Linked DNA regions of Homo sapiens: all the other regions are linked to region 3. The links are contacts of gene promoters, found by promoter capture Hi-C in human tissues and cell types (Jung and others, 2019). All regions are on one chromosome and are shown on one strand. Each heading gives the region's core, a stretch centred on a gene start or on the middle of the fragment in contact. The rest is flanking DNA. Distances are from core to core; before and after follow the strand shown.

What was found. Contacts are between HindIII fragments. The study calls those that stand out against the background at their distance.
Region 1: a fragment that was not itself captured here is called in contact with the fragment with the promoter of TMED9 in region 3 in 3 of the 25 tissues and cell types used here (dorsolateral prefrontal cortex, hippocampus and mesenchymal stem cells).
Region 2: a fragment that was not itself captured here is called in contact with the fragment with the promoter of TMED9 in region 3 in 1 of the 25 tissues and cell types used here (spleen).

What each region holds. Positions count from the first base shown.
Region 1 is chr5:178,012,184-178,016,740 of GRCh38, reverse strand. It overlaps the pseudogene FAM153CP. Among named protein-coding and RNA genes, the nearest start is that of PROP1, 18 kb to the right of the region's middle. The HindIII fragment of the contact is 6,355 bases long and covers 1-4,492 here.
Region 2 is chr5:177,235,326-177,239,703 of GRCh38, reverse strand. NSD1 (nuclear receptor binding SET domain protein 1) reads right to left here. Exons shown (of 23, transcript NM_022455.5): 6 at 3,759-3,883; 7 at 1,197-1,467. Among named protein-coding and RNA genes, the nearest start is that of RAB24, 66 kb to the left of the region's middle. The HindIII fragment of the contact is 9,664 bases long and covers 1-4,378 here.
Region 3 is chr5:177,589,126-177,593,452 of GRCh38, reverse strand. It overlaps TMED9 (transmembrane p24 trafficking protein 9), which reads right to left and starts at 1,250. Exons shown (of 5, transcript NM_017510.6): 1 at 1,055-1,250; 2 at 778-878. The coding sequence starts at 1,238. RefSeq lists an enhancer at 1-45. The HindIII fragment of the contact is 6,732 bases long and covers 1-4,327 here.

The DNA.
Region 1 (4,557 bases), core at 66-2,565, 420 kb before region 3:
ATGGGATGATAAATGCATAGCACACAATAGGGGTTTAGCCCAGAATACAACACTCAACAGATATGAATCTCTTCCATCTATATTTCCTTAGTTAACATATTTTTTTAAATCTGTAAAATCCTACCTGACTGCATATTCATCAGAACTCCCAGAATCTATTAAAGAAAAAGGTATACTGCATTATAAATCAATAATAATTGTATAGAATATTAAAAGCATAAGAAGGCACAGTGATACATGCCTGTATTCCCAACTACTTGGGAGGCTGAGGCAGGAGGATCACTTGAGGAACCCAGAAGTTTGAGGCCAGCTTGGGAAACAGCAAGACTCTATCTTCACAAAAAAGTTATGCACACTTGTGTGCAGACTTCAGACCATGTTTTTTTCTTTTCTTTTCTTTTCTTTTTTTAAAGCATAGGACTGATGCTTTGTTATATAGCATTCCTTTGGGAGCATAACCGGGACCTTATTAGAATTAATATTAATTATACCTATTAGTAGATAATTAATGCAGTAAGAACTCTTACTTCCCTTACTTTGTATTTATTAAATGCAAAGAAGAATAAATTTATAAAATTTGATATCTACAAGTGAACCGCAGTATACAAGTTATCCTAGCCAAACCCTGTGAGATTGACTAAAAATGGTATTGTTAGCAGAACAGGTGTGATGAATGAACAGTGTCAAAGAGCATGATTTCAGGACCAAAACATGACGGGCAGTTCAAACAGAGTATACAGTAGTACCCCTTGTCCACTGTATGTGTGGAAAAGACACATTTGACCTGTTTTTCTCTGCTGTCACGTCACAGCAACAATAACAAAGAAGTCTCCTGTGACAAAACGTGTGGAGGGTTTTTCTCCACCAACAAGTAAGCAATCATTTCTGCCGATGACACAAACTGGGCATCCTCTAAGTCAATTCTCACACTCTATCTGCAGATAGCATCAGATTGCACAGGTAAAGGGCTCAGTCCCATGAAACTGCCTCCCTACATCAGTTGTAGGTCTGAAACTCCAGAACTTCTGGCCAACTGTCTTCAAATTGAGGTTCCCAGGACTCCCTCTTTGGGTTAAATTGAATTGCTAGAGTGGCTCAAAGTACTCAGGGAAACACATTTACCAGTTTTCTATGAATGACATTACAAAAGATACAGATGAAGAGATGCATAGTGCAAAGTATGGGGGAGGTGGCACGGAGATTCCATGCCCTCCCAGGACACACCATCCTGTAGGAGCCTCCATGCATTCAGCCATCTGGAAGCTCTCCAAGCCCAGTCACTTTGGGTCTTGATGAAAGCTTCATTATATTGGTATCACTGATTAATCACTGGCCTTTGGTGACTGACAACCTTCAGCTCTTCTCTCCTCTCCAGAGTCTCCTGAATGAGACAGAAGATCTCAACACTCTAATCAATCATGTCTTCAGGATGGTGACCAGTTCCCATCCTGAAGCTACCTAGGGGCTTCCAGCCATGGATCATTAGCATACAAAAAAACATCACTTTGGAAATCCTAAGGATTTTAAGAATTGTACCCAACAAATGAGTTAAGATCCAGAGATTTTACATCTGCAGTTTTGATTTCTGTGGTTACAGTTACTAATAGTCAACTGTATTCCAAAAATATACACGGAAAACTCCAGAAATAAAGAGGTCATAAGTTTTAGTGTGCCATTCCGAGAAGCACAGTGAAACCGTCAGCACCCTCTATCCAGCCCAGGATGTGAATCGTCCTGCAGTGCACCCACACTGCACATGCTGTCCACCCGTTAGTCATCAACACGGTCTCCTCCTGTAGCCCGCCGCCAACATCAAGGCCTGACGATCTAGGATCACGTCATTCACCTCAGTTCATCTCATTACACGGGCATTGTATCACTTCACATCATCACAAGAAAAAGGGTGAGAACCAGCCGGGTGCAGTGGCTCACACCTGTAATCCCAGCACTTTGGGAGGCCGAGGCGGGCGGATCACGAGGTCAGGAGATCAAGACCATCCTGGCTAACACGGTGAAACCCCATCTCTACTAAAGAAATAAAAAAAAAAAAAATTAGCCGGGCTTTGTGGTGGGCGCCTGTAGTCCCAGCTACTCCGGAGGCTGAGGCAGCAGAATGGTGTGAACCCAGGAGGCAGAGCTTGCAGCGAGCCGAGATCACAGCATTGAACTCCAGCCTGGGCGACAGAGCGAGACTCCGTCCCAAAAAAAAAAAAAATGGGTGAGAACCGTACAATATATTTCAAGAGACCACATTCAAGTAACTTTTATTACAGTATAATTTGTTATTTTATTGTTCGTTTCTTACTGTGCCTAATTTATACATTAAATATTATCATGGTTATGTATGTGTAGGAAAAACCAGTGGGTGATTCAGTACTATTTGTGGTCTCAGGCATTCACTGGGGGTGTCTTAGAATGTTATCTCCCATAGTTAACGGGGAACTACTGCACTTATTTTGTTGTAACACAACACAGCCTCTCTAGCTCTTCAGTTAAAACTTTTCAGTATAGAATCAAACACCCTATCACCAGAAGCCAGCAGAATGTAGGAATCAGACCAGCAACAGGGATCCTTGCAAAAACTTTCCAGCTGCCAGTGGAGAAGAGCTCAAGAGAGCTCAATGTGTTACTCTGGATACTACTCTTCTGGGGAAGGTGCTGGGTGGTTTCCTTAGTTGTAGCTATATACTCTGCCCTACGTATAAGAAGGCCCAAATTCACCTGCCATTTTACCTCCCACGGAAAGAACCACTGGAAAGATCACTCCTTTAAGAGCTTATACACTCGGAACCACGCCTCACATTCAGAGAGAAGCTTAAGAAACACCGGCGAGGTGTGCCAGGCTGCCAGGCAGTACTATATGATGTGAAAAATATACAGAAAGAAAACTATCAATGCCCTCTTGCTGCCAGAATGTTCCAATGCTTGCCCCTTTCCCTAGTAGGAGAAAAAAATTCTTTTTCACCTCACATAAAGCAAAACTGCCGTCCCTCACGACACAGAATCTAGTTGCAGGTGAGTCATGTCATCATAACACAGACTGTTTTCAAAGTCATCCCTCAAAGGAAGAGGATCAGTGAGGAACATATGTATTTATCTATAACATTCACTGCCTGGTCTTATTTCCAACCCAAGGTAAGTATGAAAGACTTTGTGATTCCAGTTTTTTAAAGTACAACCTCTTGAGCTTCTCCCCTTCCATTGCTAGGGAGTCTATCTGGACCCACCTCACTGGAGCAAGATGCTCCAGTTTGTGCTGTGTGGTATTGCATGGTGTCATTTTCCTCAACCCTTTCCATTATGTGGCAAAGGCCTATACAAATCATGTTTCCTAAGTATGTAAAGCATATGTCATCAGACCTTACAAAGACAAAGAAGCTAAAGAAAAACAAAAGGACAAAGAACATCTTAAATGACTACATTCAATTACCATGGAACTTTACTTTTTTAACTATTCAAAAAGATATCCATTGTATTATTTCAACTATATGACTCTCCTGAAAAAAGTAAAACTATGAAGACAGATAAAAGATCAGTGGTTTCCAGCAGCTGCTAGGGAGAAAGGGAGAGATGAACAGGCAGAGAATAGAGCATTTTTAGGGCAGTGAAACTGTTCTATCTATAATAAATAGACACATGTCATTATACATTTGTCCAAATTCACAGAATGTACAGTATTAAGAATGGAGCCTGATGTCAACTATGAACTTTGAGTGATTATAATGTGTCAATGTAGGATCATCAGTTGTAACAAATGTACCACTCTGGTGGAAAATACTAATCATGGGGGAGGCCGTGCATGTGTGGGAGGCATGGAACAGAGGAGAAATCTCTGTACCTTCCTCCGATTTTGCTGTGAACCTAAAACTGCTATAAGAAATAGAGTTATTGATTTAAAAAACATATTCACTGTCTATGCATCCCAGGATTTCCAGAACAAAAATAAAAAATAAAAGATATTCACTGAATCTGTTATTATGATATATTTAAGCAGGACACAGTGGTAACCCTAAAAATTGGAGATCATTAAAGACCAAAGTAACAGCATGTGGGCATGATTTCTCAAATCGCAGTATAGAAAATGCATAAAACAAATAAATTCAATTGCAAGCTTAGGCAAGAAAATATTGATAAAATGATTAAATATCTTATTTCCTAACTCTAAACAGGGATTTAGCACGATATGAAAACTAGATTCACATAATCAAAATAAAAGACCATTTTTATTCCAATTTTAACTCAGAAATTATTATGCTTATTCAATTTAACACTTTCACTGAAAGGTTAAAGAGATAAGAAGGACAGATTATAATTGCTTAATATTGCTATGGTAACTTCCATTCAAATACCTGTGAGTCACCAGAAGTCAAAAAGGTAGCCAGCATTGCAACACAGGATGGATCATGCAACAGAAACTAGCACCAGGTTACCTTATCTTATAATATTATTTGCTGTTAAAATGAAATTTTAAAACAGCACCAAAAATTAAGTTGGGGCTAAAACTGTTGTGCAGGAAAGATTTCATATAGCAGGAGAGAGACTGCCGTCCTTAGAAAG
Region 2 (4,378 bases), core at 1-2,500, 350 kb after region 3:
ATTTTTAAAAAATCTGTATACCACACAAAATGAATCTCAATGTTTTTGATGTTTTCCCCGTCATCTTATGGGAAGAGGCAGGATGGTAATTTGCTTATTATAAAATATTAGTAAACAAAACAAGTAAACAGTTTTCAATGCAAGCACCAACTAATGTGAGGGATGTGTGTGTGGTGACTTTAACTCACAAAATCACTAAGGGAGAAGTCAGAAGGACGGAACTGCCTTTATAACAACTGATTGTTGGTGAGGATAAAATAAGGAGAAGTGGAGTGAAATAGAACTTGGATCATGGTCATAAATGGACAAAGATTATAGTTTCTGCTCTGCCCCTAAGTAAATAAAATTCAATAGGTAAAAGATAATTCATAGGATCACTCAAGAATAATATAAAAGAGCTGACTTAATAGAGTTTTGGCACATAGTAGGTACTGAAATAATAACTATCTTTACTGTTCTTTCAAAAATCTTTTTTATTATACCCAACTAGTTTAAGCACAATTGGAATCGTTTCTTTAAGGAATAACATCAAAAGCTACTGTTGATAATGTAAAAAAGTTATATCCAAAATTTAAAGGGGTACAGAAAAGAGGATTCTTGCCATTCCTTGACTGACTATAATATTCAATAGTTACAAGGTGAATTAGAGACAATATGTTTAGATCCAACTCTCCCCAGGTGATATATAAAGAATGATCAAGTGAGAAGTAACTGGTAATTAACTTCTAATGAACTGGTAATTACTATGTTGTCAGGTATATAACATTACACATTAATACATTATGATCTCCATTTATAGATGAGGAAACAAGTTCAGAGATTAAACAACTTCCCAAGTAACACAAGGATTGGTGGAGCCAGCACTTGAAGCATAGTGCTTATTCCACTAATGTGCAGTACTCCTCTTGAAGCCCTGTTATCCTGGTTGTTAATTTACACAGTGGCTGATCAACAATCATGAAGAGCAACACTGGAGCAAGGAGCATAGTTATTAAAAATACATCTTCTTGATAGTGTGCCACAGTTCATGGTTAGTAACTATATCTAATTAACCATCATTTTAAGTATTTCCCAGGACAAAAGGGGGTAGTTTATTGTATATAGATACAATGTTGGCTTTACATCAAAACATACTAAAATCTCCTGCTTCCTCTAATCATATCTGCTCAAATACTGAGACCCCAACCCCACCTTACCTGGCGTTTTAACTAGCAATTCCTCAGACTCAAGGGCAGGCCGTGGAGAGACTTCCGGAGCCACAGGCACAGACAAGGTCAGCTGCGGCAACTCAGCATGTCCACCTCCAAGTTCTGACTGAGCCAAGGGGCCCTCCAAAAACGGAGCCTCCCTTTCAAGAACTGGAGGCTCTTCTTTGGTTGAAATCAAAGAATTCTCGTCCACCTGCTTGTTCTGAGCACTAGATCGACCTCGGGCTAGAAGGCTTTCCTCTTCACAGCGGGAACTTACCTAAGAACAAAAAATAAAAATAGAGTCCACAGGCCAAAATTGTTGTAATTTAAGTGTCAAAAAGAATAACACACTTTAAAAGGAATGAAATTCTGACAAAGGCTACAAAAAGTGGATGAACCTTGAAGACATTATGTATGCTAAGGGAAATTACTTAAGACACAAAGAACAAATATCGTATGATTTCAAGTATATGAGGTATCTAGAATAAGAAAATTCTTGAGACAGAAAATAGAATGGCAATTGCCAGGGGCTGAGCAGAAAAGGGAGTTATTGGTTAATGGGTATTGATTTTTAATTTGGAAAGATGAAAAAAATTATCGAGATGGATGGTGGAGATGGTTGCACAACAATCTAACTGTGCTTCATGCTACTGAACTGTACACTTAAAAATGGATAAAATAGGCTGGGCGTGGTGGCTCACGCCTGTAATTCCAGAACTTTGGGAGGCCAAGGCAGGCAGATCACGAGGTCAGGAGATCAAGACCATCCTGGCTACCATGGTGAAACCCTGTCTCTACCTAAAAATGCAAAAAATTAGCCAGGTGTGGTGGCGGGCACCTGTAGTCCCAGCTACTCGGGAGGCTGAGGCAGGAGAATGGTGTGAACAGGAGAGGCAGAGCTTGCAGTGAGCTGAGATCACACCACTGCACTCCAGCCTGGGCAACAGAGTGAGACTCCATCTCAAAAAAAAAAAAAAAAAAAGATAAAATAATAAAATTTACATTATATATATATATTTTTTTAACCAAAATTAAATGAAGTTGACTGAGATACACTGAAGCTATAATATTGATAAGTCCACAACAATAATTCAAAAGCAGGGGAAAGAGACTGCTCTAATGTCTCCAATTAAAACAACTACTAATGAACTCCTTAATGTTACAATTGGTAATTAATGGGAAAGAAAGAAGCACTTATTCTGCCTTTCAAGTATTTCAGGACAATAACAGAGTCCAATTAATGAAAGAGACTATCAGTTAATAAAAATAGAGAAAATAATAAAATCTGAAAGTCTTCATTTTGTAACCTCTAATAAAATTATTGATATAGGTAAAGATCTTCAACTGGGGTTTTCAAAAAACCATCAGGGAAGCTGGGCATGGTGGCCCACACCTGTAATCCCAACACTCTGGGAGGCTGAGGCAGAAAGATCACTGGAGCCCAGGAATTCGAGACCAGCCAGGGCAACATAGTGGGACACCGCCTCTACAAAAAAAATGTTGTCAAAAATTAGCCAGGTGTGGTAGTGTGCACCTTTGGTCCCAACTACTCAGGAGGCTGAGACGGAAACATTGCTTAAACCCAGGAGGTCAAGGCTGCAGTGAACCGTGTTCGTGCATCTCTGCACTCCAGCTTGGGCAAGACACTGTCTCAATTTTAAAAAAGAAAGAACAAACTGTCAGGGAATGGCTGATGGGAATAAAACATTTTTTAACCCTCTAATGTACAATATATTCCACATTATCATCTCTGATATAGTCTAGCTAAAAATGTTCAACTTTCAATCTATCAAACTGATAGGTTCTATCTTCCATTTGACAGAGAACAGGAGATAGAGAAAACAATCTAAGTGACACCTATGAGGAAGCAATTACACAAATACAGAAAGTAGATGACTTTATATGTCACTCTCTTATAGACATGATCATGATCATGAAAAAAGGGATTGTTCTGAATTCAAAGTGATTTGAGAACCATAACAACCAGTTACAATGAGCAGTCCTAGATTGAGTCCTGGTATGAATAATCCAAAGGTAAAGGTTAGGGGATAATTGATGAAATTTGAAAGACAGTTGATGTCAGATAAACAGATCTTATATAAGATGTAAATATGTTAAATTGATTATAAAGGAAAATGTTCCATTTTTTAACTACATATTAAACTATGTAGGGGTAGAATGTCAAGATGTCTCTATTTCATTTTAAAAAACTGAGTTGAAAAATAAGACAAATAAGATATATTTACTTTTGAAATTAGGGTCAGACTATATATATTTCACTTTATAGCCTATATTTTTACTTAAGATTAAATCATAACAATATTCCTAAGTCATTACTCTTTGAAGGCAAAGAGGGAAAAATATATACATAAATAAATACAATATGTAGATTCATTTATATATTTCCTGAATAACCACTAAATCCTAAGTACTGTGCTAGAAGCTGAGAATAAAAAACAAGATCTCAGTTAAGGAAATTATTGTTTCATGAAGATAAAGTATGACATTGAAGATAAAATTGCAGTTTCCTAAGGACCAGTGAAAGTTTGCTGAAATTTTGCAACATACCTTGTGCACCTGCTCCTGTACCTTCTTTTGTTTTTTCTTAGGAGCAAATATCTGATCATATTCTTCTGTATATTCCAAAAGCCACTTGCTTGGCTTCCTAAGGCGTTTCTTCTCTGACCGCACAGCTAAAAGATGATAAACAAATTCAACATTAATCAAAAAGCTTCAGGAAAACCCACTGTTTTTATGAGACCATCTGATACTCCCAAAAGTAACCAGATGGGAAACCACATAGTAAAATAGACTATGGCTTAAGATGCAAGAGGCACAAAATGGCTTATGTTTTCTCATATGCAAAAGGAGCTGGGGGGAGACAAAAGGACTTGTGTTACCTTATATACACAAATAATAGAATATATGTGGCCCATCCAAAATTAAGGAAAAGGTTAAATTTAAAGCCAGGTCTTATAGTCACTGACACCTGTACATATAAAGCTAATATATACCTAACAAAAATGTAGCATCTAGATCAGGTAAATAGGTAAAATACATCTTGAGTTACAGGCTAAGTATGCCTTATCTGAAACGCTTGGGATCAGAAGTGATTTAGAATTTTTCATATTTTGTAATATTTGCATATATATATAATAAGTTATCTTGGGGATGGGACCCAAATTGAA
Region 3 (4,327 bases), core at 1-2,500:
GAGAGTCTGACATTAGGGTGGCAAGTGACTGACTGCTCTTGGGAAGGGCTTTCCTTTATAGCTTATGCCCTTTCAACTTTTTTGGTGTGAGTTGTTTTTTGGGGGGTTCTTTTTTGTTTTTGTTTTTGAGACAGAGTCTCACTCTGTCGTCCTGGCTGGAGTGCAGTGATGCTATCTCAGCTCACTGCAGCCTCAGCTTCCCAGGTTCAAGCAATTATCGTGCCTTAGCCTCCCAAGTATCTGGTATTAGAGGTGTGCGCCACCACACCCGGCTCATTTTTTTTTTTTTTTTTTTTTGTATTTTTACTAGAGACGGGGTTTGCCAGACGGAGGTTGCCCAGGCCGGTCCTGAACTCCCGGCCTCAAGTGATCCACCCGCCTCGGCATCCCAAAGTGCTGGGATTACAGGCAAGAGCCACCACACCCCGCCATGAGTTTTTTAACGAAAAGTGACAGAAGGTGAGAGCTGAAGGGTTTTGCCGTTCGTTTTAATATCCTTACTTGGGAAGATTAAAAGCTGCTCATTTTGTGGGGAAAGTATCATGTTCTGTGAAATCTTAAAGTCTAGATGACTTTAAGAGTTGACAAAACTCTTTGATTTTTATCACCACAATTAATCCGCCCATTTCACAGACCGGGCGGGGTCTGCAAGTCAGCAGGATATTCCCACAACATCAACTGTCTCTCCCACTTTAGCAGATGCAGGAACTAGAAGAGGAAGTACCGGAGCCCGCCTAGCTGAGAGGCTGGCGGAGAGGAGGGGGGCGGTTGGCTCACCTTGTCCTCTGGGTCCTTCACCTCCACAAACATGCCAAGCCCCGGGGTGGCCGGCTGGTACTCCTCCCGCTGCTTGTCATACAGCTGCGTCCGGTAGTTTCCTTGAGGGAAGCAGGGCGAGCCCAGGTCAGAGGAGCGCGAGGTGGCATGGGTTCCGCGACCGCCTGGGCACGGCGAGGCCGTCTCCTCCCGGCTCTAGAGAGCTGACTGTCTCGCATCCCCCGCCCCAAGACCACGGTCACGTTCCAAACTCGCCCCTTCCTCCCCGCCCCCGCACCTATGACCATGGTCTCGTCCGGGATCTCCTCAATAAAGCACTTCTTCTCCGTCTCTCCGATGTGAAAGTAGAGCGCGCTTCCGCGCGTCGCCAGCCACAGCACCAGCAGGAGGGTCCGCATCACTCTACCCAGCCCGGTTCCGGGCCGGGGCCGGACGAGCAGCACGCCCAGCTCCACAGCCATCTTGCTCCACCTGCCTGCGCAGCCGCAGCCGGCCGCGCCACGTCGCCCTGCCGCCGCCGCGGTGCCTGCCGGGACCGCGAGTTCCGCCGGGTGGACCACAAATCCCGAGATGTCCCGCGGCCCTGGCGCGGCAGTACCTGATTGGGGCGCGGCTTTTACCTGAGAGAGAGCGGGTGCCCTAGAATAAAAACTTATTTCCGTTGACTCTCTTCATGGCCTGGCAACTGACGATGGTTACCAGCTTTTCATAGATGAAACTGAGGTCGTTTGTTTGAGGTTGCGGAGCGAATTGCGAACAGAGACAGGATTCGAACCTAGGATCCCTGACTTTCCTTGGCACAGCATCTACCAGTCTTGATTTGCTTCTACCTTTAAAAATGAATTTAAAGAGAACGACCAAATAATGCACAAATGTATTATCAAAAAAGATTAAAAGAAATAAAAGGCAAGGTCTCCCATTACCACTTCTTTGTCCTCATACCCTGTCCACTCCTAAATCGGGTGTTACCCTCTCAAGCATTTCTCCGATCACACACACACACAAACACACACACAGCCTCTGCTGCCAGATCCCAACTGCAATGGCTCGTTACTAGCAATTCTACAGAAATAGAAAGGATCATAAGAGAGTACTATGAGCAAATATAAGCCAACAAATTGGATAACGTAGATGAAATGGACAAATTCATAGAAATGCAAAACTGACTCAGAATAGATAATATAATCTGAATAAACCTATAACTAGTGAGGAGATTGAATCAGTAATTTAAAAAAAATCATCCTTACTTAATATAGTTAAGATGTCAATACTATCCAAAGCAATCTACAGATTTAATGCAATTCCTGTCAAAATCCCAATGACATTTTTTGTAGAAACAGAGAAACTCATTCTACAATTCATATACTCTCAAGGGATTTCGATTAGCCAAAACAATCCTGAAAAATAAGAATAAAGCTGAAGAACTCACACTTCCTGATTTCAAAACTTACTTCCAAGCTTCAGTCATCAAGACAGTGTGGTACTGGCATATAGACAGACATATAGACCAATGGAATACAATAGAGAGCCCCAAGATATGCCCTCCCATATATGGTCAAATAATTTTTAACAAGGAGACCAAGCCCATTCAATGCGGGGAGGAGGGACAGTCTTTCTAACAAATGGTGCTGGGAAAACTGGATATCCACATGCAAAAAAGTGAAGGTGGTTCCTTCTCTAACACCATAGATAAAAATTCACCCAAAAAGACCCACAACTTTTAAAATCCCAAAGCATAAAACTCATAGAAAACATATGGCAAAGGGTTTACCACATCGGATTTGGCAACAGACTTCCTGGATATGACACTAAAGGCACAGGCAACAAAAGAAAAAATAGACAAATTGGACTTTATGAAAATTAAAACATTTTGTGCATCAAAAGACTCTGTAGCAGAGTAAAGAGGCAACCCACAGAATGGAAGAAAATATTTGCAAATCATATATCTGACAAAGGATTAATATCCAGAATATGCAGAGACTCCTAAAACTCAGCAACAAAATAAGAACAATCTCATTCAAAAACCACAACAAAGGGCTTGAATAGACATTTCTCCAGTGATCAACAAGTGGCCAGTGAGCACATGAAAAGATACTCAACATCACTAATCATTAGAGAAACACAAATCACAATGAGATAAAGAACAATGAGATACTACGTCATATACCCATTAAGATGGCCACTAGAAAAAAAAAAAGGAAAAGAAAGAAACTACAAGCATTGGCAAGGATGTGGGGAAATTGAACCCTTGTGCACTGTTGGTGGGAATGTAAAATGGTACAGACACTGTGGAAAACCGTATAATGATTCCTCAAAAAAGTGAAAATAGGCTGGGCATGGTGGCTTACGCCTATAATTCCAGCGCTTTGGGAGGCAGAAGCAGGAGGATTGCTTGAGCCCAGGAGTTCGAGACCAGTCGGGGCAACATGACGAAACCCCATCTCTACAAAAAATACAAAAATTAACTGGATCTGGTGGCATGCGCCTGTAGTCCCAGCTACTCAGGAGGCTGAGGCAAGAGGATTGCTTGAGCCTGGGAGGTCAAGGCTACAGTGAGCTGTGATCATGCCACTGCACTCCAGCCTGGGTGACAAAGCAAGACACTGTCTCAAAATAAATAAATAAAAATAGAATTACCATATGATTCAGCAAGTCCATATCTAGAGATATCCTCAAAATAATTAAAAGTAGGGTCTCAAAGAGATATTTGTACACATATGTTCACAGCAGCATTATTCACAAGCAAAAAAAAAAATGGAAGCAACCCAGTTCTTCATCAGTAGATGAATAGATAAGCAAAATATGGTACATCCACACAATGGAAATCCTTTCAGCCTTAGAAAGGATGGGAATTCTGACACATGCTACAACATAGATGAATCTTGAAGAAACATTACGCTAAGTGGACTAAGCCAGACATAAAATGATAAATACTGGGTAATTCCATGTATATGAGGTACTAGAGTCGTCAAAATCACAGAGACAGAAAGCAGAATGGTGGTTGCCAGGGACTGGAGGACAGGGAGAGTGAAGTTATTGTTTAATAGGTATAGAGTTTCAGTTTTCCAAGATAAAAAGAGTTCTGTAGATGGATGGTGGTGAGAGTTCTATGGCAATATAATGTACTTAATCCCACTGAAGTGTACAGTTAAAAACAGTCAACTTTGGCCGGGCACGGTGGCTCACGCTTGTAATCCCAGCACTTTGGGAGACCGAGGCGGGAGGATCACAAGGTCAGGAGATCGAGACCTGCCTCACCAACATGGAGAAACCCTGTTTCTACTAAAAATACAAAATTAGCCTGTGTGGTGGCACATGCCTGTAATCCCAGCTCCTCGGGAGGCTGAGGCAGGAGAATTACTTGAACCTGGGAAGCAGAGGTTTGGTGAGCTGAGAAGGCACCTTTGCATTCTAGCCTGGGCAACAAGAGTGAAACTCCATCTCAAAAAAAAAAACAAAAGTGTGGTAGAATGCTCCAGTGTAATCATCTGGGCCTTGAAATTTCCTTTTGGGGAGTGTTTTAATTATGAATTAAATTTCCTTAATAGCT